Linked DNA regions of Homo sapiens: all the other regions are linked to region 1. The links are contacts of gene promoters, found by promoter capture Hi-C in human tissues and cell types (Jung and others, 2019). All regions are on one chromosome and are shown on one strand. The core of a region is centred on a gene start or on the middle of the fragment in contact, and the rest is flanking DNA. Distances in the headings are between cores, read along the strand shown.

Region 1 (3,484 bases), core at 160-2,659:
TGAAAATAACAACAAACCAAGGCTGGGACAAGGCAGACAGACCCCAAGGCACTCAAAGCACTCCTTGGAGCTGTGCAAATGGTGCCAGGACCCTGGCAGGGTGTCAGCTGTCACAAGAGCAGCGGGGCCAGACCCCTTCAGCGGTTTGGTAGCCCTGCAACCAGGAGCTGAAACACAACTGAGCCTGCTGCAACTAAGCACAGCTATCTCTGTAGCTACCCATGCCCTGGACATTTCGGTCCTCCCAAAGCCATGATGCAAACTGTTAGAATCCTCAGGCTTGCAGTAGTCTTTATTTTTGCTCCCTAACCTTGTCTCAAAAACAGGCAAGAGTCGCCCTCCCTTGCAGTCACAGCAGTATCAGGGCGATGCAGAGTCTGAGTGGGAGGATGCAGAGCAAGGAGCTGCGGGCAGATGGGTGGAAGGGGGTAGGGACACCTACAAAACACCGGACTTGAGGGGCTAGCTCCTAGCTGGGAATGTGGTTCTTTGGAGAGTTGTGGAAATAAGACGTTTCGGGGCATGGTCTAAATGAGTGCCTGCGAGGGAGAGAGACCCCGGCCGTCCCAACGCTGCAAAGTGTTTGCAAATCTAAAACATTCCTTTGCTGCTAGGATTAAATTTTTAAAAACAAACCAAAAAATAAAATAAAATATGTGCAGACAGGATGTAACAAGTGTTTCAGGACAGAGACACGCCTGAGTCACGGGGTGCTGGAGAAAGAGTGAGGAGTCTGTCTCGGGGCTTCCCAATGAGCCCCCTCTCTGTCAAGAGAGCCCCAGGGCGCACAGACCCCCGCCTCGCACGCCCTCAGTCCCCGGCCGCGTCCACCCAGCGCCCCCCGCACCCTCCAGGATTGCCCCACTCACCACTCGGCCAGAAAACCTCTCGGTGGCCCGCTTGACTTTGCCGTAGGTGCCTTTGCCCAGGGTCTCCTGCAGCTCGTAGCGGTGCTTCAAGTTGTGCTTGTGGTGATGCCGCTTCACCCCGTGCGGCTTCCTGGGCTCCAGGGCTGCAGTCGCCCCCGCCACCGCCTCTCGGGGAGAGCCCGGCGCCCCCAGCCCCAAGTCGGGGCGGTCCCCCGCCACAGGCGCGGCGGCCCCTTCCATGTCCAAGCGCGGGGCGAGCCGGGCTACAGAGGGCAAGACCGGGCACAGCGCTGGGATGTCGGGGTCCCCACCGAGGGAAGCCGCTGTACGCTCAAGGTCGCCCCCGCAGCATCAGGGAGGCGGCCCGATACCGCTCGGACTGCGGCTCGGTCACTGGCGGCGGCGGGGACTGCACATCTGGCGCCCGCGGCGCGCACGGTCCGCGCACCGCCCCCCGGCCGCGGCGAGCTGTGGAGCGTCGGGCGAGGTGGCGGCGGTGGCAGGGGAGGCGGTGGTGTTTGCAGGAGGGAGGGGAGAGGGTGGCTCGCAGCGCAGGAGGGGGAGTGTTATGTGGGGCGCCGCGCCCCCCAACCCCTCCCCGGGAGGACGCGCAGACGGGGCGGGGGCGGCGCTCGCGCGGCCCCAGGGGAGGGGGAGCGAGGGGCGGTGCAGCCAGGGCTTCCCCCACCTCCCTGCAGCCACCCGGGGCCGGGGCCGCCGTGAGCTGGGAGGGGGATGGGAGCGTGTCGCGACTCGCCCTTTGTGCGGCGCGGCGTAGGCCACGGCGGCGGCGGCGGCGGCGGCCAGGAGTGCTTTGTCCTCGCTGGGCCGGAAGGGACCGGGAAATTCCAAGCCGGGCGCCCCCTCCCCGGGCGCTCTCGGGCTCGCCAGTCGCAGCTACCGCGGGCCCTCCGCCGCCTCGGGCTCCGGGGCCGGTCGCTCGGCCTGGATTCCTGCTGGCGCCGGGGCGGCGGTTGCGGCTGGCCGAGCCCCGGGGCCGGGGAAGAAAGAGCGCCGCGAGCCGGGGGCCGCCGGGACCTGCTCGCGATACGGCCGGGGCCGCCGCGGGCCTGGGCGCCCCTTCATTTTCTTGTAGGTGTCGCCGCAGCCTGGCGGCCGGAGCTGGGGGAGGGGGCAGGGAGGCCTGGTGTTCGGTTACAGGCGGTGACTCACGGACCTTGCCCGCCCGAGGCTGGCACCCCGCGGGGCAGAGCTGCGCCCGCCTGGGGCAACTCCGAGTCCAGGAGAACCCCAAGAGCGGCGCTTTGGCCCCGGCCCCCGCGCCCTCTCCGAAGAAAGGAGAGTCAGGGACGGAGGGAGGCCGGGAGGCTGAACCCCGGGCCCGCCGTCGAACCGCCGGCCCTCCGACACCATCTGGACCCCGGCGGGGACAGCCGCCTGGAAGGGGAGGAAGGCCAGGGACGTGGAAGAGATGGGGCTCTAAAGGCGCCGGGACGGAGCTGGCTCCCCAGAGGCGCCCACCCTGCCAGCGAAGGCCGCCATCGGAGGTGGGCAAACCAGGGACCTGGGGTGGACCAGGACCCCGGGCCTGCTGAGCAACCCGTTTGCTGAGCAGGAGGCGATTTGCAGGCCTCTTGCCTCCTTAGGCCTTGGGAGATTTCCTTTCACTGAAAGGGCCAGATCCTGGCGATGGTGACAGGAACGGTACCCCGCACGGTAAGGGTCAGGCAGGAAGGGCCTCCCACCGCGGCGTGGCTGCCGCCGTTCTAAGAAGAGACCATGAAAAATAAGGAAGAAGGCTAGAGAAAAAGAGGTCTTAGGGAAATTTTTTTTTTTAACAAGTGGTGCAATGTACCAGACTAGGGTGGGAAGAGTGAAGGCTGAAGAAGGTCTGGTGTTCTGCAGATCGCATGGCGGTTCTTTTCCACCAGTGGACCTCACTGGGGCCTCCTCTGCAGCTCTCAGGTGCAGCCCTTCCTCTACATTCCCGCCGCCTTCATTCCTGTCTACCCCTGGTCACCTTACCCCGGACTCCAGCAACAGCCCGCTCTCCCCAACCCTCCCCGGGAGCCTCCTCACTGCTGCCAGAGTAATGGCCTGAAACACTGCCCTCATCCTCCACACGTGTCTCTGCTGTACTCTGACGCGTGATATTCTTACCTGTCCAAACTTTCCTTCTACTGATATTTCACACAAACTTCCCTGCCCCTTCTTCCCTTCCCCAGGAGCAATGACAGAACACAGACACAAAGGCGCATCATGCCTATTCAATTCCTATTCTGTCCACCGCATTTGCAGGGCCTCCCTGCCACCCACCCCCATCCTGAAACTGTTCTGCTTCTATACAGTTTGTGGACGTTGTGCCTATAGATCCCACAGTCAGGATGAGTGGCATGCAGGTTGAGTCCTGGCTTCCCAGAGGATTGGCTGTGTGGCCTTGGTCAAATGACATAACCTCTCAGAGCTTCGGTTTTCTCTTAAGATATGGATTTAGCAGATCTATTGTAGAGATAAACACATTGTGTCTACAGTAGTATTTTAAAATATTTTCTACTTCTTCCCCTCCCCTGCGATGTGGTAGAAATCCACTACCCCATCCTCTTGAAGTTAGATGAGACCATCGGACTTGCTTAGGCCAATGGAATGAGAGCAGA
Region 2 (3,762 bases), core at 562-3,061, 340 kb before region 1:
CAGGGCAGTGAGCACTCAACTCGTGGCACCATAACAGGTGCTGTCTGTCTGAGGACTCAAAAAAGGTCCGGTGACCCACTCATCACAATCGATCTTTCAGGCCCTGGATGCTGGTCCTTCTACAGTCAAATCTATTTCTGTCCTCATGGGCCCTGCAAAAGGATTTAGTATCCAAATCCCATTTGGTGTTCAAATAAGACATCCTCATGCAAGGTGGACTTGACGGAATGATAATACAAACAACCGTAGAGGGTATTGAGTCAGTGCTTTGGACCAGGTGCCGCATTAGACACCAGATGATCATAATGCACCAGCATTATGATCGCCTTGAGGTTCCATACCTACTGAGTAGCAGAGGAGTCCTCAAGCTCATCCACTGCTAGGGCTCTTGCTGTTAATTCCTGCATTCTACTCCATCCTTGTTCATTTCCAAAGTCTTGTACACTTTATTTCTCCCTTCACCACCAATCCTACTTAAGGAAAGTTATCAGTCTAAGCCAGCTGCTTCTATGGGAATTAAAAAACTAAAAAAAATAGCTTACGTGTCAATTATTTCTCTCCTCTGTGTATCCATAGTTCTTGGTACACAGCTTCAGTACAGCAGGGAGCTGAACATGATCTCTCTCCATCATTAGACAGTGACTCTTTGAAGGCAAGAACCTTGTCTTATTCGTCTTTCTAACCCTAGCCCTTAGCATGGTGCCTGGCATATAGCAGACCCTTAATAAATATTTGCAGGGTCTGCAAATATTTGAATATTTGAATATTTAATTCAAATATTCAATAAATTTGAATTATGAATTCAAATAATAATGAATGAGTGAATGAATGAGTGGACAGTTGGATGCATACGTGAATAAATGATTCAAATAACCTCATTCTTTTTTGTTGAAAAGTCTGCACTGAGTCTCAGGTTCTTAAACAGCAAGAAGCGATTGAGTTGCTACAACAGTTAGCGCAATATCTGATACAGAGTTGGTGCCCAATACGTTTTATTGAATAAAAAATATTAATATATAATTCAGTCCTTAAGGCAGCATAAATCACCTGGAAGATCTATTTAAAAACTATTTGTTCTTCCAGTTCTGAAATCTATCACTAATTAAACCAGGTTAGCAAGATGCTGGGGGCCTGGGTTGCACCCAACGAGAGCTCCACAGATTGGCTTTTATGGCAGTAGGCTCTGCTGGGCTGGCGTCAGCCTGTACTGAAGGAGGCTTCAGGCTGATGACATTTGCCATCATGTCCCCTGTCAGGCTGCTGTAGAGGACCTCATTCATTACACACAGAGTTGAGGTCCTGTCTGATTTCAATATTAAAAATAGTTCTTCTGACAAACTGGTCAGTTTTTATGTCATATACTTGGTGAATTGTCTATATTTCCCTTATTACCAGTTTGTAATGTAATATACTTGGTGAATTGTGTATATTTCCCTTTTTGTTTTGGCCGCTAAAACATGAAGTCGAGTTTGTAGCCAATCATAGCAAAGGAAAAGGCTTTTTGTTATATACTTTTCCAATGTCAGTCTTGGCTCTCTTTCATTTATGTACTCTAAATTCCTCTTTCCTTCCTTCCTTTTTTCTTTTTCCTTCTTTCTCTCTTTCTTTTCTTTTCCTTTTCTTTTCTTTCTTCTTTCCTTTTCTTTCTTTCTGCTACTAATAATTTTATGTCTCTTTATTATCTATGAATGATGGTAAGCCATCAGGGATCATCAATGAAACTAACGAAATTTAAAACAGCTTATTTTATTGACTAACTACAGATGAAGCAAATGTATTCAGCAAATATATTGTTATTCAGATACACAGTGATTTTTATCTTCCCCTTGTGTATTTAATGTATTCAGGACTAGAACCATCTCTGGAAGTCAACAGAGGATAAAGACATAAAATATTAAATAAAATATGATATTTTAACAAGTCTGTTAATATCATTCCCTGAGCGTTGGGAGGCTGAGTTATGGGAGGATGATCTTAGCTCTTTTTCTGGCTCATGGGAGGTAGTCACCAAATGTTCATTGCAGGAGGAAAAGAAAAGGGGACAAGAAACACGAAGAAAGAGAAGAAGGGATAGATGAACAAAGGGGGGAATGGAGAGGGAAAGAAGGTCAGTGGAGATGTAGGGGTGGGGAAACAAATAACTGAAGGTACAGAAAATGAACTAACAATTGAATTTACCTTATTAGCTAAGGCCAATGTTTGGACCTCAGTTGTCTCTGATAGGTTATCTGGCAGCCAGAAATAAGAGGGAAGGTCAGAGTTGTTATCACTGCACTTATGGCTTTTTGCTAAAGAAGATGATGTTTCTGTCCTATTCAATTTCAATACGAGCTAAGTCGTAACCAAATTTTAGAACCAACAACTCATACTTCCTGCTTAGAATGAACCTTCTCATCCCATAATTTCCTATCCTGAGAAATACAAGACAAAGCTTTTCTCTCCTATTTCTACTTAAGTAAAAATCTGGCCAGTTTTTCCAAAAAGTAAACTTCAAATTAATAAAACTATTTTGAAAAACACTTTTATTATATTTATTTTTTTCTTAGAATAATGGTAAACAAATTCATTGTAAAAATATGGAGGCAAAATTGTATTAAAATTATATAAAATTGTCTTTAACTGTTGTTAGCATTGTCAGTTATTTTCATCCAGTCTCATTTATTTTCACATATATGGGGTAGACATATATAGTTATGTGTACACTCAGTCCTGCATCCTTTTTATGTTTTTAACTATATATGTTCCTATTTCAAGAAAAGTCCTCAAAATTTGATTTTTTTTTTTTTTTCCTGAGACAGAGTCTCGCTCTGTCGCCCAGGCTGGAGTGCAGTGGTGTGATCTTAGGTCACTGCAACCTCCACCTCCTGGATTCAAGCCATTGTCCTGCTTCAGCCTCCCAAGTAACTGGGATTATAGGTGTCTGCCACCATGCCTGGCTAATTTTGTATTTTTTAGTACAGACAGGGTTTCACCATGTTGGCCAGGCTGGTCTCAAACTCCTGACCTCAAGTGATCCACCCTCCTCAGCCTCCCAAAGTGCTGGGATTGCAGGCGTGTGCCACTGCGCCTGATTCAAAATTTACCTTTTCTTAAATGTATGCATCATATTACATTTATGGAAATTCCATTATGTATTTTGTCTTGTTATGGAATCTTTAGATAGTTTCCAAAGGATGAATATTCTATACATTTTTTCAGTTCCTCTAATCACAAGGCACTCAAGTAATAAAGTTGTGGTATTAGTGTTAACAGAATCAAACATCATGTGGGAATCCAAAAAAAAAAAAAACAGGGACCACAGTATGGTTGGGATTTACATAGATCAGAATAGGATTCAGGACAGCTTTTGTGGTAGAGATTTTAGCTGTTCATATTATTTCTGGTTCTTTTCCTTCCAGGAACTTGGTGTAGCTTGTATTTCTGTACTTTTCCATCCTCTTGAGGTCAGACATGGCCATGTGACTTATTTTAGCCAATGGAATGTGAGAGGAAGTGAAATGAGCCACACCCACGTGGAAATATTAATTTTTCCGTGTTCATGATTCTCACCCAGGAAGGATTGGCTGCTAATAACTCACAGCTCTCCTCTTCTCCAGAGAATTGCCTTAACCACCTCTCTCAGAGGAATTACATGATCTCCCCACCCTGAGGGACAGACAGCTATGAATGACTAACCCAGTAGTATAATTCATGTTCACAAGCTCCCCTTGGGACCAGGCTGAAGCTAGTCTAGAGGAATCCATATCTTTGCTTAATTTGCTT
Region 3 (3,951 bases), core at 877-3,376, 330 kb before region 1:
AGCAACAGTCCCTTTTCATAAAGGTAACAGTTATCTCTTGCAAATATGGACATAAGCAGTGACTCCTTTACTTCTAATAGTCTAGTTTGAAGGGTCTTGGGCCGAGCAGATAGTGACCTGGATGGAAGTTCTGACAAAGAGAGAAGTAAAAATTTGCTAACTATTTGTAGCCTGTTGATGAAAATACCCAGAGAGGATGCAGAAATGTCTTCAACTCTCTGAAGGTTCTTCTTATAGAGAAGGGCATGGAACGTTTCCATTTGCCTCTGAGAGTAGAACTAAGACTGAGGTTGGCAGCACTATGACAGCAGAGATTGAAAATCATTGGTGTGGGGGCCACGTTCACCTCCCAGAAAATATTTAGAATGTTTGGTTTGGCCTGTACAGTCCTTAAGACACGTTTAAGATAAAGCTAACATCAAAACTTTAAAATTGTACATAAAAATAAAGATTTCCATTGTCTCTTAAAAATTAAGCAGATTGGAAATCCCATCCTTTGGAAGAGCAACTGTGGCTGCCACCCTAGGTTCTGCACTTGGGATTGGAAAGAGGCACTCCATCGAGGGAGGTGGTTGCACCTTACTCCTCTTTTCAGAATACCATTAAAATCCAGTTTTTAATTTTAGTATTTAACAATACCCCAAATAGCCTCCTTTCAAGTGTGATTCTTTTGTGTACTCCACACAAGTTAAACTACCCTAGGTCCAAGGAAAGCGCTGGATCTGTTAACTCTGGGCCCATATTTCTGCAGGGCAATAATCTATTGGTGTGAATAGCAGATGCCTGCTTTGGAAAGGCATCTCTTTAGAAGTTAACTACCCTCCTCCATGACGCCTTGCCTTTACCAGGCCCAGGTCATTCACTTATGTTACCTCTCTCTGTATGTGCCTCAGTTTTTGACCTCTGCTACAGGGAAATAGATATGGGCTTCATATAAGGGAAAATGAATTGTTAACTATCTGAAATTTCAAACAATGCAAAAGCTTTAACATGAGATAGTGAGTTTTCCTAATACCAGAGGCATTCAAAGAGAAGTGGGATCACCACTCATAAAAGGAGAATCAATGTGAATTGGGTGCTGGCTTAGAAGATATTCTTTGGAGGCCCCCTTCCTTTCATGCCTAAATGGCACCATTCTATGAATAATTGGTAGCAAAAGCAAAGCAGGACTTGTTCAAGGAGGCGCAGGCAGGAAGAGGTCTGAGAGCTCAAAGAAAGTAATTGGCATGTTATTCCAAGGTTGGATCCAAAGCAATCTGGCAGCTTTATCCAAAGCAGGAAGAAAAATGTTAGTGCACACTAGACTTGAAAAATAATCAACACTTATTCCAGGAAAAAATAGTTTCTTTCAGTTGCTCAGGGCTGTGTGGTTTGAAGTGCACTTTTACAACATTATCTTGGTCCATCTTTGTAACTCCATGATTGAAGAGCCACACGGGTAACAGTAATCCAATTATATAGATTGGAAAACTGAGGTCCAGGGAAATCATCACTTACACTCAGTAGCCAGGGCCTCTATTTAGGTGTCATCTTTCTTTGGCTTTTACTCTTCCAGCTTTATCTCAAATCACAAATCCTAGTCATAAAATCAAAGAAGAGTGTTTAGGGAATCATCTGCCACAAGCCCCCTTCCTAATGCTGTCACATCCAGGGGATCTGCTGATAATCTGCCAAGAAGAGCAGCCAGTGCACACAGGTCATTCCATCTGTCTCACTTAGATCTTTCCTCAACAAAAGCCTGATTCTTCTTCCATTTTTGAGAGGACAGACAGGTGGTCGCCATCTTCCCCAGGACGGCCCCTCATAGACCTGAAGCCTGTTACGAAGCTGGCTCTTCATCTTTTTCATCTCCAGACAAAATAATTGAATTAACCTTTCCCCCAAATGACAAATACCGTCTTGAATATCAAACACCCTTTTCATATAAATGGAGAATTCCAGAGTGGCCCATTTAACAAATGCCTCTTCTTTAAAAGCTCCTCTTCCCAAAAGCAGGAAGGCTATTAGCAAGCTAGCTCTTCAAGTAGCCCATTAGTGGCCTGAAGGAATCTGCAAGAAATACAATTAGACCTCTGACCCCAGATCCCAGCGAGTGCTTTGAAGAGAAGAGAACGATCAAGCCTCAAAGCTGGTCAGTCTGTGCGGCTCACTCTGGACCCTGGGTGTGGGCCCCAGTTGCTCCCCTAGAAGAGTAAAGAGTCAGGGTCCCGGATTCCCTTGGGAACCTCCTTCTGCTCTCTGGCCTCATCCCATTTCACATACCAAAGTCTTTTGCTGGCAGCACCCTGAGGACATTACATTTGCTTGACTATAATTCTCGTAGCACAAATACATTGCTTCTTTTTCTCCATGGGAGGGGCTTGAGAACTTAAACTATTGTGACCCAAACTATTTTTCAACTGGCCTATACTAGTTCAACAATTACACTTCTGAGCTTCAATCTCCTTTAATATAAAAGAGAACAATCATTACCATATATTCAAATGGGTATTGTGAGACTCACAGGAAATGAAGTCTATGGAAAGCTTTTGTAAACTGTGATGTGTTGGTAAATATACAGGAATATTAACATTGCCATTTTAGACACTATTTTTTTGTTGTTGTTGTTCCAAGATGGAGTTTTGCTCTTTTTGCCCAGGCCGGAGTGCAATGGCACGATCTTGGCTCACTGCAACCTCTGCCTCCCGGGTTCAAGCAATTCTCCTGCCTCAGCCTCCCAAGTAGCTGGGATTGCAGGCGTACATGACCACGCCTGGCTAATTTTTGTATTTTTAGTAGAGACGGAGTTTCACCATGTTGGCCAGGCTGGTCTCAAACTCCAGACCTCCGGTGATCCACCCACCTTGGCCTCCCAAAGTGCTGGGATTACGGGTGTGAGCCACCGCACCCTGCCTAGCCACTCTTACTAAATGTCTCCTAGCCCAGCAGCTTCTCCAGGGGAAGAAAGAGACAACGTCTTGTTAAATTTGGCCCAAACTAGGCTGCTAGTGAAAAGGCCAGGCTGAGCAGCTCAGTCGGGAGCTTGTTGTATAGCTCTCTTTTGTTCTGGCACACCTGCCAGTCTGACATCTGACATCAGTGTAAATAAGCCTCCCATAGGAATTGCTTTTATCATTGCACCTGTCTGTTCCAACTTACTTGCTATGATCACAGCCCACAGCTCTTGACGGCTGTGCACAGTCAGAAGGCACAAAAGAAAGCCTTTCCCTGGGGCCCATTTGTCTCTGCACTGTGCCCCAGTGGCTGCTTATCTATAAGTGGGTATTTTGACACTCCCAACCTGCCTATCCATCTCAGGCCTCCTCCGAGTTACTCAGAGTCTGATGTCTGAACCAGAGGTTAATTTATTATTTTTTTCTTTCATTGCCTGGTCTGGAAGTGGGTGTTTACCTCTATGAAATATTCAGGCAAGGTCCTATATCGATTTATAATAGACCTTTGTAATTAAAAAGATAATTTTTTATTGATAAGTCAAGCCAGGCATAGATACATATCTCTTTCTAAATACAAGTAAACAGAGAAAAATCTACTGGTGCCTGTGATAAACTGATAGATTCCCATTCTTCACCTTAATTCTTTAGACTTCCTTCATGTGTGGCTTTGGGGTTTTCCCTATAAAGGCAGGGCATACTTCCCTACCCCATGCAACTTGCTTTGGCCGAAACATTGAGGCAAAAGTGAGGGTGTGTCTAGGCCTCAAGAGGCCTTGTATGTTTACGCTGGACCTCTTTGGGCTTCTGCCATTGCCAGGTAAAGGACAGTCTGGGCTAATTGGTGGGTTAGGAGGGGTATGAGAGATACCTAAAGCACAGCTGTTGCAGTCCAGCAGCCCCAAACAGACCCCGCTCTGCTGAGTCCACTAGTCACCTGCAGACATCTGAGAGCTTGCCAAGATCAGCCAATCACCAGATAACCCACAGACACATAATAATAAGTGACTGTCATTTTAAG
Region 4 (3,635 bases), core at 1,117-3,616, 280 kb before region 1:
TTGACTATAAGCCCTACAGTAAGATACACATTTTAAGCCATGATTAAGCTTCACAAAAACATACTTAAACTACACTAAGTGTGATATACTACATCTTATTATATTCTGTTCAATTTTTTAACTGTTGGTGGCAACTGATGCAATTAACTTTACCATCTTCTAATGGATTTTCTGGACCTTCAGCCAGAAGATCTGAGTTTCAGTCTTAAATTCTAACTCTTGTCAACAATGTATCCTTAGAAGAATTACCTCATTTGAGAATTTACATTTGGAAATGGGGTTCATAATCATTTCAGAGTGACTTTATGCGGCAAACATGATACAGTTCAGTTTCTCAAACTGTGGTGTAATTACCATTGGTGGTACCTGAGATGAACATTGTATGCACCTATTTTAATTCTTTATGAAAACATACAACTTATGTCAAATGTATAATGTTACCTGTAATATAAAGCTTCCTCTTAAAATAAACTTATTTTAAAAATAGGATAATTTACTTAAAGACAAATATTAAGCAAATGACATTACAAGTTATAGGTGAAAGTTGTGAATTTGTACAAGTGGTAAGTAAGTGAAGTTTAGGAAGCTTGGAGATGACGTATGAGCAAGTACAACCTAAAAGATGGTAGGAGTGACACGGTGACCCCTTGTAGACTTGAGCTAAGTGCCTGATTCACTGTGAATTCTCCAGCACTGAGAATTGGATTGGCTCACAATCAGTGCTCAGTATGTGGTTATGACAAATGGATGAATGGATGTTGGATTTATGGATGGATGGATGATGGGTAATAAGTGGAACGGTAGATGAGTGATGGATGGGTGGATGAGTGAATTGGTAGATGAATGATGGGGATGGATGAATGGTGGATGATGAGTAGATGGATGATGGACCAATGGATGGATGAATGCATGTTGAACAACGGATGATGGATGGATGGGTGGATGGATTCATGGATGAATGGGGAAATGAATGAAATAATTAAACACCGACCTTTTGGAGTCAGAAGAACTTAGTTTAGAGTTACAAAGGATGAAGCATGGTGTCAAAGGTGTCAGTGACTTCAGGGCCTGGGGGTGGGAGGGTGGGGGCAGATATTCTTGCTCTGAGGTGTCATCTGGATGCTAAAACCCTCTATACTGCCACAATTAATACTGAGCCATGGAAACATCAGGCTGAAACAGGAAACACTAAGCTGATGTCAGCTCTGTTGCCCACATAGAAATGTCATTCCTGGACACAGGCACTTGCAGTAAATATCTAGTGAAGACAGTAGGAATAGAAATGCCTACAACTATAAATCCTTGGAAATGTTGACTCATGTAAGTTTGAACTTCTAGCCATTTGCTGATGAGAATGGCATCTTCTAGGTGCAGCCCACGGGCACAGAGGGCACCAGGGACCAGCAACAATCGCATGTCAAAAGGATAAGGAAACTCAAGTGCATTGGGCTGCCCCACTCAAGAAGAAGCTCCCATAATAGGTCAAATTCCAACAGAGGAGATTTTTGCATTGGCAGAGAGGGAATGATGTCTTACATGACAGATGACAGCCCTTATAATTCAAACAGTCTCTACTTCTTTTATTAAGAAATATTTTGAAAAACATGAGGTGCTCAACTTATTTTTTCAATCCCAGGACATACCCATCTGCTTTTGCCTTCCAGTTTCATGCTGAAAAATTTAAAGTGATACTATTTTCATCTCTTCCCTCATTTCAATACAGAAGAACCCTGATGAACTAACGCATAGAGAGAGCAATTTTTTACGGACAGAGGGGAACTGTGGAAAGGTGGTGACGGTCCAGCCCCTGTAGAAAAATTCTGAATCCCCATTTGCTGGTATGTTCTGCCACCTCTCTGTGCCTCAGTTTCCATTTCTGTAAAGCAGGGAAACATCTATGGAGCTGTTGTGAGGATTAAATGAGTTAGCAAAGGCAAAGCATCTCGAAGTTTCTGGCACATAGTAAGCACCCAATAAATGTGACCTAATTTTATTCTGTGTACTTACTTTGTACCAGAAACTTTCACTTCAAGAATGTTATTTAATCCTTAAAAATTAAAAATTATTCCTAGTTTCCAGATCAAAGGTTAAGTGACTTAACAAAGTCTAGCAAATAGTAAAAGTAGGATACAAACCAAATTCCTTATCTTCTTGTCTTTCCTGCCATCTTATGCTACTGTGCTAATCTGATTCACCAATTAAAAGCCATTTCCATAAAGCATGAATTCAATTAGGTTTATATTTTTAAATTTTTGATCTAACAATAGAATGGATCCCCTTTCTGCCCATCTTTATTTTTTTGTCACGTGTGTGTGTTTATGTGTGTGTGTGTGTGTGTGTGTGTGTGTGTGTGTGTTTTTCAAGGTTGAGGTACTTAACCTGATACTTAAATGTGACTCTAAACCCCTTGAAGGCAAACTTCATTTCATCTGTATCATATGACTTGGTGGAAAGGCATATACAGAGGAAGGATTTGGTGACAAGAGATGGCTTATGGTAGCCCCCACCTGGAGTGGGCCTCTACTTTCCCACCAAGGCTAATTTAGAAGGCAGAGGGTGCTAAAGGCAGTTGGAAATATTAGAGGTTGTCCTTTGCTTACCAGCTTCTTCCAGGACCCATGTGTCTCCCAGCCCCCTTCCCAGACCTAGTTCTACCCTCAGTACAAGACATCTCAGCCTCTGAGAGACTCTAAGGTAGGAAAGATATGGACATAAATGAAGAAGGGAAGGAGAAAGGAGTGAGAACATTGAGAGGAGTTTTCTCAGTGGCTTGTGATTTTCCCTAAAGAAGGAAACAAGGGCATGGCATGAGTGAGGGAAGGTGGGCGGGGGAGCCTAGAATGAGATGGGAGAGAGCTGACTCAACGGGAAAAAGCAATGCCAGAAGACTGTGAGGGCCATTGACCAAGGAAGCCAAGAATGCGACTTCATTATTTCACACTAACTGTGCCTTTCTTAGAAAAAATAGCTTGGACTCTTGAAACATCAGGCTGTGGTCTCTAGGTTCCTTTGAGGATGGATGGTGGTATGACTTGGCTATGTCTCTATCCAAATCTCATCTTGAATGGTAGCTCCTATAATTCCCACATGTTGTGGGAGGAACCCGGTGGGAGATCCTTGAATCATGGGGCAGTTTCCTCCATACTGTTCTTAGTGAATAAGTCTCACAAGATCTGATGATTTTATAAGGGGAAATCCCTTTTGCTTGGTTTTTCTCATTCTCTCTTGCCACTGCCATGTAAGAACTTGCCACTGCCATGTAAGTTCTCTTGCCACTGCCATGGAAGTTCTTGCCACTGCCATATAAGAACAGTTTTTCTCCTTCTGCTATGATTGTGAGGCCTCCCCAGCCATGTGGAGCCTCTTTTTCTTTATAATTTACCCAGCCTCAGGTATGTCTTTATCAGCAGCATGAAAACAGACTAATACAGATGGTGAGTTCATTCAGCTCTGTGTGGATTCATTCAACCACCACGTAAACCTGTATTGAACACATACTATGTGCCAGGAAGTCCACTGGGCTCTGAGGACACAATGGTAGTAGAAATAAAAAATGCTTCTGCTTTCATGGAACTTACAGTATGATGTGGGAGATGATCAAAAAGCAAAAGACAACCATTTTCATAAATAAGAAG
Region 5 (3,606 bases), core at 987-3,486, 300 kb before region 1:
TATTTTAACATATTTAAAATAGGGATAATAATAATTAGGCCAGGCTCCAGCCTAAGTGCCTGGACCTCATATGTAGTAACTGTTTTAACCCTCTCAATAAAGTAGGAACTATTATTATTATTATTATCATTATCATCATCCTCATTTTATAGATAAGGAAACTGGTGCTCAGAAGAGTTAAGGAATTTGCCCGAGGTCACACAGAAACCAAGTGGCAGAATTTAGATTTGAACTCAGGTATCTGACTCCAGGGCTTGTGCTCTTAATTACTATGTCATTTTGTTATTTTTCATTAAGTCGTACCTACCTCAAAGAGTTATTGTAAAAATTTAGGCAAAAAAAAAAAATACAAAGCTCTTAGAACAGTGTCTGACATAGTGAGAGCTTAATAACATGTTTGCTATTGTTACTCCTTGCCATTCTTGTTATTGGCTGTAAAATAGGTATATTCATTAAGATACCTATTTATATGAATTATACATTTATTTAAGTATGCACATGAACAATAATTTTTACTTAATGTATTTATATATTACACGTAAAATTAATTTTCAGGATTATAATGAAACATAAATGAGTTAACATATGCAAGATACCTAGCACCTTACATTCTAATGCCTGGAACTTTGAAACAATTCCAATCGAAACTCCTTCTTCTCCACATCCAGCATTTTTAAAAAATTAACTTCTGCATTAGTCTGGTAAATTACCAACAGCCTCTTCAAGGCAACCTAAGCTTTTGCTAACATGTACCTCAAAACTCTTCCAGCCTCTACCCTTTCCCCACATCCAAGATTATGTTCACATTTTTAGGCATTTGTTCCAGCATATCCCCACTTCTCAATGCCAAAATCTGCCATAACAAAGTGCCACAGACCGAGTGGCTTAAAGAAATTTATTTTCTCACAGTTCTGGAGGCTAGAAGTCCAAGATCAAGGTGTTGGCAGGGTTGGTATCTCCCAAGCCTGTCTCCTTGGCTTATGGAAGGGGAAGGCTGTCTTCTCCCCGCATCCTGGCATGGTCTTCCCTCTATAACTGTCTGCATTCAAATCTCCTCGTCTTATAAGGACACTAGTCAGATTGGATTAGGGCCCAGCCATGTGGCCTCTCTTTACATTAATTACCTCTTTGAAGGCCCCATCTTCAAGTATAGGCACATTCTGAGGTACTGGGGGCTAAGACTTCAATACATGAATTTGGGGGAACAGGGGGGGACCCAATTCAATGCACAATAACCTCTGATCAAAATCATCTAAAAGAGAGATGATGAGGCTGGGTGCTGTGGCTCATGCCTGATCCCAGCACTTTGGGAGGCTGAGGTAGGTGGATCACCCAAGGTCAGGAGTTCGAGATCAGCCTGGGCAATATGGTGAAACCCCGTCTCTACTAAAAATATGAAAATTAGCTGGCTGTGATGACATACACCTGTAGTCCCAGCTACTCGGGAGGCTGAGACAGGAAAATTGCTTGAACCCAGGAGGTGGAGGTTGCAGTGAGCCAAGATTGCGCCACTGCACTCCAGCTTGGGCAACAGAACAAGGCTCTGTCTCAAAATAAATAGATAAATAAATACAGAGAGAGAGAGAGAGAGAGAGAGAGAGAGAGAGAGAGAGAAATGATGAGAGCCTAAAGTAAGAGAAAAGAGGAGAGACATTTGTTAATATACACATCATCTTTTCCTAAACAGTTCTAGTAGCCTTAGAACCTGCCTTCCCAAGGTATGTAAGTAACTTTTATTTGGGGAGGGGAAAAAGCTGAGTGCTGTCAGTTCTTTGGTTCTGTGTCTAGAAATGAACAACCCTGGGGTTTTCTGGGGGCATTATTTATTTTTCATTTGGTAGTGTTGGCATCATGAAGACAGAAGCTGAGAGAATCATCAGCTTGGAGCAAAGCGAAAAACAAAAGCAGAAAAGACAAAAGGAAAAATACCACATTTTTCCCCCCGAGAGCACCAGTGGAACCGAGAACTTCCAGCCTGGGCCTGACCCTCTCTGTCCCAGCGAAGGACAATCCCAGGTTCTTTGCAGGACAGCAAATGACAGCAGAGAAGATTCTGGAGAAACGTGTCCATCTGTGTTCATGGTGGAAACTGATGAAGAAATCTTCTTCCAAAGGTACTTTTCATGGGAAAATCGTATATGGTCTTGACAGAGCTGCCAGTCCCTCTGGAGGAACTCAAGTTGCTTTGCAGGTTGTAAATGGCCAGGAGGGGGATGATACTCATCTGGGGGTCCCATCAGAAATCAGCGGTGAAATAGGGGAGGCAGGGACAAGGCTGTGCAATATATCCCTCTAGAGCAGACCTCTCCTGCACCTGTCTGGGCTGGCTACTTCCGGCAGAAAACACAGGACATTTTACCAGCATGAGTGTCACCTGAGACAGAGGGGCCTGAAGATGAGAATTTAAGGCGTGAGGTGAGGAGAGGGTGGTGAGGTATCTGCCACGTGAACATCAGTTTGGGTGCGATTTCAGGGGGTGCTCAAAAGATCTGTGATGTAGCTGGAAGAGCATTGGAATGGGAGTCAGAAGGCCTGGGATAGGGTTTTGAATCTTCTCTCTACTACCTTAGTCACTTTGGACATACTATTTTTCTGAGTCTCACTGCCCTCATTTAGAAAATGTACAGGATTCTAAAATCAAATGGTGTACATAAAAGCATTTTGCTAGTTTCTGAAATGATGAGGAGGAAACCATTTGGTTTTTGGAGTCAGACAGACCTGGGTTCAAATGCAGTTTTTAACATGGACAAGATAATCCTGAGCCAACTCATTCAGCCTCAGTTTCCCCAACCATTTATTCATTCATTCAATAAATATGTTATAGAGACCCAACTATGAGTCAGGTACTAAAGAAAGATGCATGCTTGTCCTCACAAAACTTTCTCATCTGTTAAAAGGAGAAAAATGGATTACCTATCTTACAGCGTTGCTAGAAGAATTAATAAGACTGCGTATTTGTAACTCTCGGCCTAGCAGTGGTCTAAAAGGAATGCTCAATAAACATTCATCCCACTTTTTCCCCCAACAAAAGCATTATCATCTTTAATATGGGAAATTTTTTTGATAAGGACTTTTAGGGAAAAAAAATGAAAATGATTACAAAGAAAGGCCAGTTACTTTCGCATATTAAAAGTTGGTTTGGGCATAAACATATTCTGCTGTAGCAGCATATTTCATTCGATGGACTAGAAGATAAATGATTTGGACAGTTCTTTTTACTGAACTTAAAATTAGTCAGACAATTAGCCTGAGTCCACTTGATATAATGTAATTCTATTCAGGGATTGAGATGGTATCTTCATTAATAAGCCTCTGGAAGCCATATACATGAGCATCCAAGCCAAAGATTCACCCCATCCCTGTCTTGCTCCCTCTCCCTTTATCCTCTCTTAACACACACACATAGGCATATACACATGTGTGCATGCAGACACATGTATGCACGCGTTCACAAACATACAAACACACACTATTCTGGAGAGACTAGTATGGCATTTTCATAAAGATAGCATGTCATTTGAGAAATAGTCCTTATTTTTGCTATTCTAATAAGTGTTTATTTAATAGTGAAATACATAAATGAATGAATTAGCTCTTACGGGCCAA
Region 6 (3,981 bases), core at 1,139-3,638, 500 kb before region 1:
GCAATTTGGGTGGGGACACAGCCAAACCACAACAGGGTGCATAAGCCACAATACTCATTTGTTCCTATTCTAACAGTCTCTGAAGGCCCAATGAAGACTCCCTGCCTTATTGTGTCTCTCTTATACTGTCATACCTTACAGGCCTGGGTCCTATCTTGGTCATGTCTTGTGTCTGCTCAGAACAATAATTGTTCAGTTTCCAGTAAATATGCTGATTGGCTAAACTAAGGGAGTTTGTTTGGTATTCCTATGGTGGGTCTGCTTAGAAGCAAAAATGTAGCTGATCAACAGTTTGAAGGTATTTGTAAAACTGAAATCAACTGAATCAGGCTCAGCTATTGCAGCCAAAACTCTAATCAAGAATGCAAAGTTCAGTGGTGCCTTGTACCCCATGCTCGTCAAGTTCGCTCATGCAGGCATGTGCATGCACATTCACATGTAGCCCCTCTTAGCTCTAGCACAAGAAATGGAGGCAGATCCCTGAGTGCTCCAAACACCTGAGGGGAGAAATGAAAACCCATTTTTCATGCAATAGGTAAGTTGCATAATAGACAACTGAAACTGAAAATAAAATTTTGCAAACTTTAAGAAGTATATTAGTCTGGGCAGAGAGTCAAAATCACTAAATTTTCCTACAGATGTGTTTTGAGCCTCATTCTTGAAGTCTTGGGCTCTGATACATGCTGGCCTCCATAGTGGGTGAAAGAGTCATTAATTTAGTTTTCACAATGAAGATAAGGGCTTGCAAGATGTTATTTTTGCACTGGGCACATTTCAAGGGTATTGGCCTCATTGTCTTCAAAATGTAGCTGGTGCCCTCCACTTGCCCTCAACCCATCTGAAAATGTATGTGTATGCATGGCTGAGGAGCTCTGGTACCTTGCAAATTACCCATTCAGACTGTCAAGCATCCTTTGTTTGGAAGGAAAAGAGATGTGACAAATGTAAACACTGGAGAATGGGACCAGCTACAGAGGATGGATGCCCTGTCAAACCTGATCAAAGCTGATGGTGCATTCCTTTGCTGTTAGCTGGCTGCTCTCCCCGACCAGCTCCCTCTAGCCCACTTTTCCTCTGTTATATTCTTTGATTCTAATGCCTTAGGGATGATCTGGAGCAAGGTTCTGATTAGTACAAAACTCCCCACCTTATGTTTTTGTTTGTATCCATTTTCTCTAGTTTGGTGCCAGGCCACAAGATACAAACACTGATCACATTAGATGAGGGTTGCTGATTTCCTAGGGCATAAGGCAAAGAGGTTTCCTTTCTGTCACCCAGAGTGGAAGGGCCATCTGATTCAAATGTTGATGGAGGCTGTGCCTTCAGTTATGGAGGTTCTGGTTTCATAAAATTTCCTGAGGCCAAGCTGGAGGTTTAAAGACCCAGGAAGTGGTAAAAGGAAAGGAATAGCCCCTGGCAGACTGTAAAAACCAAATCAGGGTCTTACTCTAATCCTATTCCCCAAACGTGGCGGAATTAGCTCCCAGAATGCTTAAAGTTATGCTAAAGTTGCAGCTGGCTGCCTATGGATGGTGCCTCTCAGAGTAGTCATCCGGGTTGGAAACCTGGAAGCAGGGGCTGCAGAATATCAGCTGCTAGCTTGAGCCTTCTCTGGCATGTTAGGATATCTTATTTTTTCCTTCTCCATTTGCACATCTGTTGCCTCAGATAAGCCACAGTATAGAGTATGAGAAGCGTTTATGCGAATATGTTTGACAAGTCAGACAGATTTGGGCTTAAGTTTCAGCTCCGTCTTTTCACTCTCAGACAAGGTTGTATTTGGTTGCAAGCAACAGAAAAGTTGACCAGTGATGGCTTAAAGTAAGGGAGTTACTCGTCTTCCGCAACCAGAAGTCCAGAAGGAGGCAGGCCAGGGCTAGCATAGGGGCTCAAGGATTCCCTTGTGGACCAGCTCCTGCTGGCTTCCTGTTTTGAATCCTTAGAGAGTTGTCATGGACAAGAATCTAACCCCAAAGATCACTGTGGAATGTAGTTTATTTTCAGGAAAGGATGCAGTGATGGTGAATAAACAAGCCAAATCGCTCAGTGCATCTCAGAATTCCCAGGACAGATGCTGTTCTCAGTCTGTGCTGGAAGCTTCCCTAAGTGTGGAAGCAGAGCAGAGCTTCCGTAGCGGGGAGATCTCTAAAATCCTCTCCCAGGTCTTGTCAGCCTTCAAGCACATACCCAACCAAATAGATGATGTCTTTTGTTTTTGTGTAAGGCTCACTTATGTGAGAACGACTCAGCTCTGAGCAGACATTCTAGACCTTACTTTACATTTTTACTACTGCACAGCCTGGTACCTGAGCCAAAGTGGTGATGGATGGGGGCCATAATGAAGGCAGTAGCAGAAGGATTAGAAAAGAAAGAACATGTAAGCAAGAAACTCTGGGGGGAGAGTGACTGGATCTAGAGGGCCCCAAGTTGACAATGCATTCTTGAGTTAGAGGTGCTAGAAGATGGCGAGGCCATTCATCAGAATGAGGAACTCAAGAGGAAGAAACCAGTTATTTGGGATGAAAACTTAGAAGTTCATTTTGGGACACACATAAGTTGCAGGGTTGAGCAGAGGCATATCCAGGTAGAAATACCCAAGCCTAGAGCTCAAGATGGAAGTCTGGAGCATCAAATTGCAGTGACCTTTTAATAACATTAAGGAGAGAAGATAGATTTTTCTTTAAAAATGTTTTTTCCCATTAGTTATGGGCACCCATCCTGGGACTGAATCCACAAGTTGAAGAGAATAAAGTCTGCAATTATCTGGTGAATATAATCTTTGTGGAGAGCCTGTTGAGAGGAAAACACAAACCTCTGATTCCCCATAACTGCAGGGGAAGTGGGGAAAGGTGGTTATTTCTGAGTTCATAGGAATAAATAATTCCTCAGGTTATATAAGTTTTAAAAGCTTTTTTACACATCAGCTCATTTTATGTTCACAAAAACGTCATGAAAGTCAGGGGAGAGCTGCCCCTCTACGGTCACAGATGAGGAAGGAGAGATGCAGGCAATCCCTCTGATGTATCCAGATGCTTTGAGGGCTGAGCACCCGAGCCAGCTGCCCCAGGGCTGTTTCTACCCTGACTGCAGGGAGTGGCTGCCAGGTCTTTAGCCCCTCCCTCACTACAATACTGCCTCCACTCTTCAATGACTTCACAGTGAATTAGGAATTAGACAAATGGTTCTCATAGTTCACTTGGGGATATTGTAAGATGCAGATTCTTTTTTTTTTTTTTATTTTGAGACAGTCTTGCTCTCACCCAGGCTAGAGTGCAGTGGCGTGACCTTGGCTCTCTGCAGCCTCCACCTCCCGGGTTCAAACGATTCTCATGCCTCAGCTTCCTGAGTAGTTGGGAGTACAGGCCCGCGCCACCACGCCTGGCTAATTTTTTTTTTTTTTTTTGCATTTTTAGTAGAGACAGGTTTTGCCATGTTGGCCAGGCTGGTCTCAAACTCCTGACCTCAAAGGATTCACCTGCCTCCCACAGTGCTGGGATTACAGGCGTGAGTCACCACGCCCAGGACAAGATGCAGACTCTTGATCCCCACCCCATAGGTTCAGTTTCAGTGCGTTTGTGGAGAGTCCAGGAATTTGCATCTCAGGTGAGTCTGATGTAGACAGTTCGCCCACCACATTTTGAGAATCACTGATGCCAGGGGGTTTTGGGTGAGGAGAGGCTGTCTAACTCCCTTTCTGTTGCTTTTCCTGATCCTTCTCTGTCCTTCTTTACATGAGAAGGAGTTGCTTTCCTGATTGGCTGAATTCTAGGACATAAACTGAACCATATTTACAAATGGATATTGTCATTGTGTTTTAAATGTCAAGTACTTGTATGTCTCCCCTCTTTTCTGCTTCTTGCTGCCACTGTGATGTGGTATCACTAGGCTGAGACAAGGTCCCTTGGTGTCTGCTAACTACCTCATCCTTGTCTTTTGCTTTTTTTTTTTTGAATGCTTTTTTAAATGGCCTCATGAAAACTC
Region 7 (3,680 bases), core at 972-3,471, 260 kb before region 1:
CCCATAACTGAAGTATGTCACAACCTTTCTCTTATAATAATCATGTAAAAATGCTGTTTTTTTCCTTACCATGAACAGACTAGCGTGCCCTTGGTAGCCTTGGTGAGCTTGTGGTTTTGTTCTTTAAAAACTTTTTGTGTTTTTTGTGTGGCAAGTCTGTCTTTTTGGAGTCTGACTCCTTTGCACTTGTTGCAAGTTAACTTTTCTTTTCTAAGTGCTTTTATCTCTGAGTCTTTTCACTGACAGTTATGATGTCAATTGCAAACAGTTTAATATTCATCTTCCCCAGTTCTAAGGGTGCTGGCCAAGATGCCACCCACGGATGAAGCTTTCATTAAGAGTTGGTGGCCAGGATGTGAGCGTTGGGAGGAGCATAAAGGGGAAAAAGTAAAAAAAAAAAAAAAAAAAAAAAAAAAAAAAAGATTTCAGCTTGGTACATCTGCCCCACAACAAATATAGATCATCTTCCACATCTGGTAAATACTGTGGGTCAGCATTTGAGTTCTTAAGCAAGGAGCTGCAGTCACATGGTGTGGAGCTACACAAAAGCTGTGTTAATCAGAACTGTGTGAATTAGCTCCATCTGGATTTCTAAATCAGGGAACATGTTCATTTATAAATCAATATAAATATAAATAAAGAAATATATGTGTAAATATTTATAATTAAAGCTAAATATGTAAATATATTAAAATCAATCTTCATATTAAGTATTAACATATAATATAGGAATACATTTTCTATTAATATAATATAGAGATACAATATATTTGTAATTAAATATGTATTTATAAACATATATATTTGTAAGGAAAGAAACCTATTTTTGTAATTTTAAGATAAGCTAGGTTAATAAAGTTTATTTAAAGCATTTCCAACTATAGTTTGGAACAATCCTTAGAGGTTTTACTTTCAGGGTTACATAGAATGATTTTCAATAAAAGTAGAGATAATTGGAACACCAACAAGACACTTTGAAAGTGCTTGGGAGTGTTTAAAAATAGTTTCTTCTCTTAATAGCTTAAATATTCTCCATAGCATTATTCACTTTTTACCAACCCTAAAGAAATGGTTTTCTACACAAAGTTGAAGTTTAACCAAGGTCCTATTTGAATTATGACACGGATCAAATTTGTAGAGCAAAAATATTATGAACTGACATTTATTGAGATGTTACTCTGTGCCCAGCCCTGTGATAATTTATCTGCATTATTGCATTGAATTTTCACATTTCTCTATGAGATAGTATAACTGGAACCCCCGAATTGTAGTTGAGGAAAGTATTTTTTCCAAGGCTAAACAAGAAGGATGTGGCTAAGTAAGTATTTGAGCCCAAATCATTCCGACTCTTGAAGCTGAGCATTTTTTTTTTTAATACTTTAAGTTCTGGGATACATGTGCAGAACATGCAGGTTTGTTACATAGGTATACACGTGCCATGGTGGTTTGCTGCACCCATCAACCCATCATCTACATTAGGTATTTATCCTAATGCTATCCCTCCCCTAGCCCCCCACCCCCAATAGGCCCCAGTGTGTGATGTTCCCCTCCCTGTGTTCATGTCTTCTCATTGTTCAACTCCCACTTATGAGTGAGAACATGCAGTGTTTGGCTTTCTGTTCCTGTGTTAGTTTGCCGAGAATGATGGTTTCCACCTTCACCTATGTCTTAACCGCTCCGCTCCACCACTCCTCATGGACAGTTTTACTCTATTCATTCTTTCCTTCAGTAAACGTATAGTCTTTGAGCATACACTATGATTAGACGCCTTTCTGAGTGCCAGGGACATGGCAGAGAATAAGACAGAGAAGCTACTCTCATGGAATTTACATTTCTGGGATGGGAGTTAGTAGACAGAAATATATATACACAGTAAATACAGTCGTGCATCACTTAACGACAGGGGTAAGTTCTGAGAAATGTGTCCTTAGGCGATTTCATCCTTGTGTGAACATCACACGGTGTACTTACTCACACAAACCTAGATGATAAAGCCTATTGCTCCTAGGCTACAAACCTGCATGCATGTTAGTGTACTGGATACTGTCAATTATAACACAATGGTAAGTATTGGTATATCTAAACATAGAAAAGGAACAATAAAAATACATAGCATCAAGATAAAAAATGGTACACCTCTATAGGACACTTCCCATAAATGGAGCTTTCAGGACTGGAAGTTTCTCTGAGTCAGTGGGTAAGTGGTAAGTGAATGTGAAGGCCTAGGACATTACTGTACACTACTATAGTCTTTATAAACACTGTACACTTAGGATACACTACATTTATTTAAAGTTTTTTCTTTATTCAATAATAAATCAACCTTACCCTATCGTAATGTTTTTACTTTATATACTTTTAATTTTTTAAATATTTTTATTGTTTTGTAATAATACTGAGCTTAAAACACAGACACACTGCACAGTTGCACAAAATTATTTTCTTTATATCCTTATTCTATAAGCTTGCTTCTATTTTTAATTTTTTTCATTTTATTTTTTTCACTTTTTAAACTGCTTTGTTAAAAACTAAGACACAAACACAAAGGGTCTACGAAGGGTCAAAATCATCCATATCACTCTCTTCTACCTCCACATCTTGTCCCACTGGAAGGTCTTCAGGGGCAGTAATACACATGGAGCTATCATCTCCTATGATAACAATGCTTTCTTCTAGAAAACCCCCTGAAGGACCTGCTTGGGGCTGTTTTACAGTTAACTTTTTTTTTTTTATCAGTGGAAGTACACTATAAAATAACGATAAAAGGTATAGTATCATGAATATGTACACCAGTAACATAGTCGTGTATTATCATGATCGAGTGTATTATCATACACATTAATTGTATGTGCTAGACTTCTATATGACTGGCAGCACAGTAGGTTTGTTTACACCAGCATTTCCACAAACACGTGAGTAACGCATTGCTACTATATTAGGATGACTATGAAGTCACTAAGCGATAGGAGTTGTTCAGTTCCATCATAATCTTATGGGATCACTGTTGTATATTCAGTCCCTCATTGACTAAATCACAGCTATGCAGTGCATGACTGTACAGAGTGTGTCACTTCCTAGTGCTATGGAGAAAAAACTAATGCAGGAAAGATGGACATGGGAGACTGTGAGGAACAGGCTAGGCACTTTGAACAAGGTGAACATGCTTCCCTGTGGAGGAGAGACCTGCAGGTGGTAAGGGAATGAGCTTTGCACACCTTGGTCTCAAGGGAATTGCATTTTAGGCAAGTGCAGATGCTCTGAGGTAGGAGCCTGCTGAGCTGTTCCAGGAGGACCAAGATTGTCCTGGCTGGGGCAGAGTGACCCAGGGCTGTGGTTCTCCAAACAGGGTCCTAGGACAAACAGCATCAGTTTCATCTGTAGACTAGTTAGAAGTGCCAATTCTCAGCCCCCATTCCACACCTGCAGGTATGGGAACTCTGGAGTGGGGCCCAGAAGTGTGTATGTGCATGCATATGTGTGTGTGTGTGTGTGTGTGTGTGTGTGTGTTAACTTTTTTATATTGAAATAATTTCAGATTGACAGAAGAGTTGTAAAGACAGTACAAAGATTTTCCTTACACCCATCTTCCCTTGATGTCAACCTCTTACTCCATCGTGGCACATTTTTCAAAACTAAGAGATTAACAGTTATATGGCACTAATAACTAAACTGCAAACTTT

The links. Contacts are between HindIII fragments. The study calls those that stand out against the background at their distance.
Region 2: a contact is called between a fragment that was not itself captured here and the fragment with the promoter of NUAK1 in region 1, in 6 of the 25 tissues and cell types used here (IMR-90 fibroblasts, adrenal gland, aorta and 3 more).
Region 3: a fragment that was not itself captured here is called in contact with the fragment with the promoter of NUAK1 in region 1 in 6 of the 25 tissues and cell types used here (H1 embryonic stem cells, aorta, dorsolateral prefrontal cortex and 3 more).
Region 4: a contact is called between a fragment that was not itself captured here and the fragment with the promoter of NUAK1 in region 1, in 11 of the 25 tissues and cell types used here (H1 embryonic stem cells, IMR-90 fibroblasts, adrenal gland and 8 more).
Region 5: a contact is called between a fragment that was not itself captured here and the fragment with the promoter of NUAK1 in region 1, in 11 of the 25 tissues and cell types used here (H1 embryonic stem cells, IMR-90 fibroblasts, adrenal gland and 8 more).
Region 6: a contact is called between a fragment that was not itself captured here and the fragment with the promoter of NUAK1 in region 1, in 5 of the 25 tissues and cell types used here (H1 embryonic stem cells, IMR-90 fibroblasts, aorta and 2 more).
Region 7: a fragment that was not itself captured here is called in contact with the fragment with the promoter of NUAK1 in region 1 in 4 of the 25 tissues and cell types used here (H1 embryonic stem cells, heart left ventricle, mesendoderm cells and 1 more).

Annotation. Positions count from the first base shown.
Region 1 is chr12:106,137,545-106,141,028 of GRCh38, forward strand. NUAK1 (NUAK family kinase 1) reads right to left here and starts at 1,410. Exons shown (of 7, transcript NM_014840.3): 1 at 870-1,410. The coding sequence starts at 1,109. RefSeq lists enhancers at 1-340, 2,732-3,351. The HindIII fragment of the contact is 8,166 bases long and covers 1-3,484 here.
Region 2 is chr12:105,794,976-105,798,737 of GRCh38, forward strand. No RefSeq gene overlaps it. Among named protein-coding and RNA genes, the nearest start is that of CASC18, 93 kb to the left of the region's middle. The HindIII fragment of the contact is 5,258 bases long and covers 1-3,762 here.
Region 3 is chr12:105,811,331-105,815,281 of GRCh38, forward strand. No RefSeq gene overlaps it. Among named protein-coding and RNA genes, the nearest start is that of CASC18, 110 kb to the left of the region's middle. The HindIII fragment of the contact is 5,644 bases long and covers 1-3,951 here.
Region 4 is chr12:105,856,334-105,859,968 of GRCh38, forward strand. No RefSeq gene overlaps it. Among named protein-coding and RNA genes, the nearest start is that of CASC18, 150 kb to the left of the region's middle. The HindIII fragment of the contact is 4,231 bases long and covers 252-3,635 here.
Region 5 is chr12:105,836,662-105,840,267 of GRCh38, forward strand. No RefSeq gene overlaps it. Among named protein-coding and RNA genes, the nearest start is that of CASC18, 130 kb to the left of the region's middle. The HindIII fragment of the contact is 6,291 bases long and covers 1-3,606 here.
Region 6 is chr12:105,639,963-105,643,943 of GRCh38, forward strand. No RefSeq gene overlaps it. Among named protein-coding and RNA genes, the nearest start is that of CASC18, 62 kb to the right of the region's middle. The HindIII fragment of the contact is 3,275 bases long and covers 752-3,981 here.
Region 7 is chr12:105,876,131-105,879,810 of GRCh38, forward strand. No RefSeq gene overlaps it. Among named protein-coding and RNA genes, the nearest start is that of CASC18, 170 kb to the left of the region's middle. The HindIII fragment of the contact is 5,868 bases long and covers 1-3,680 here.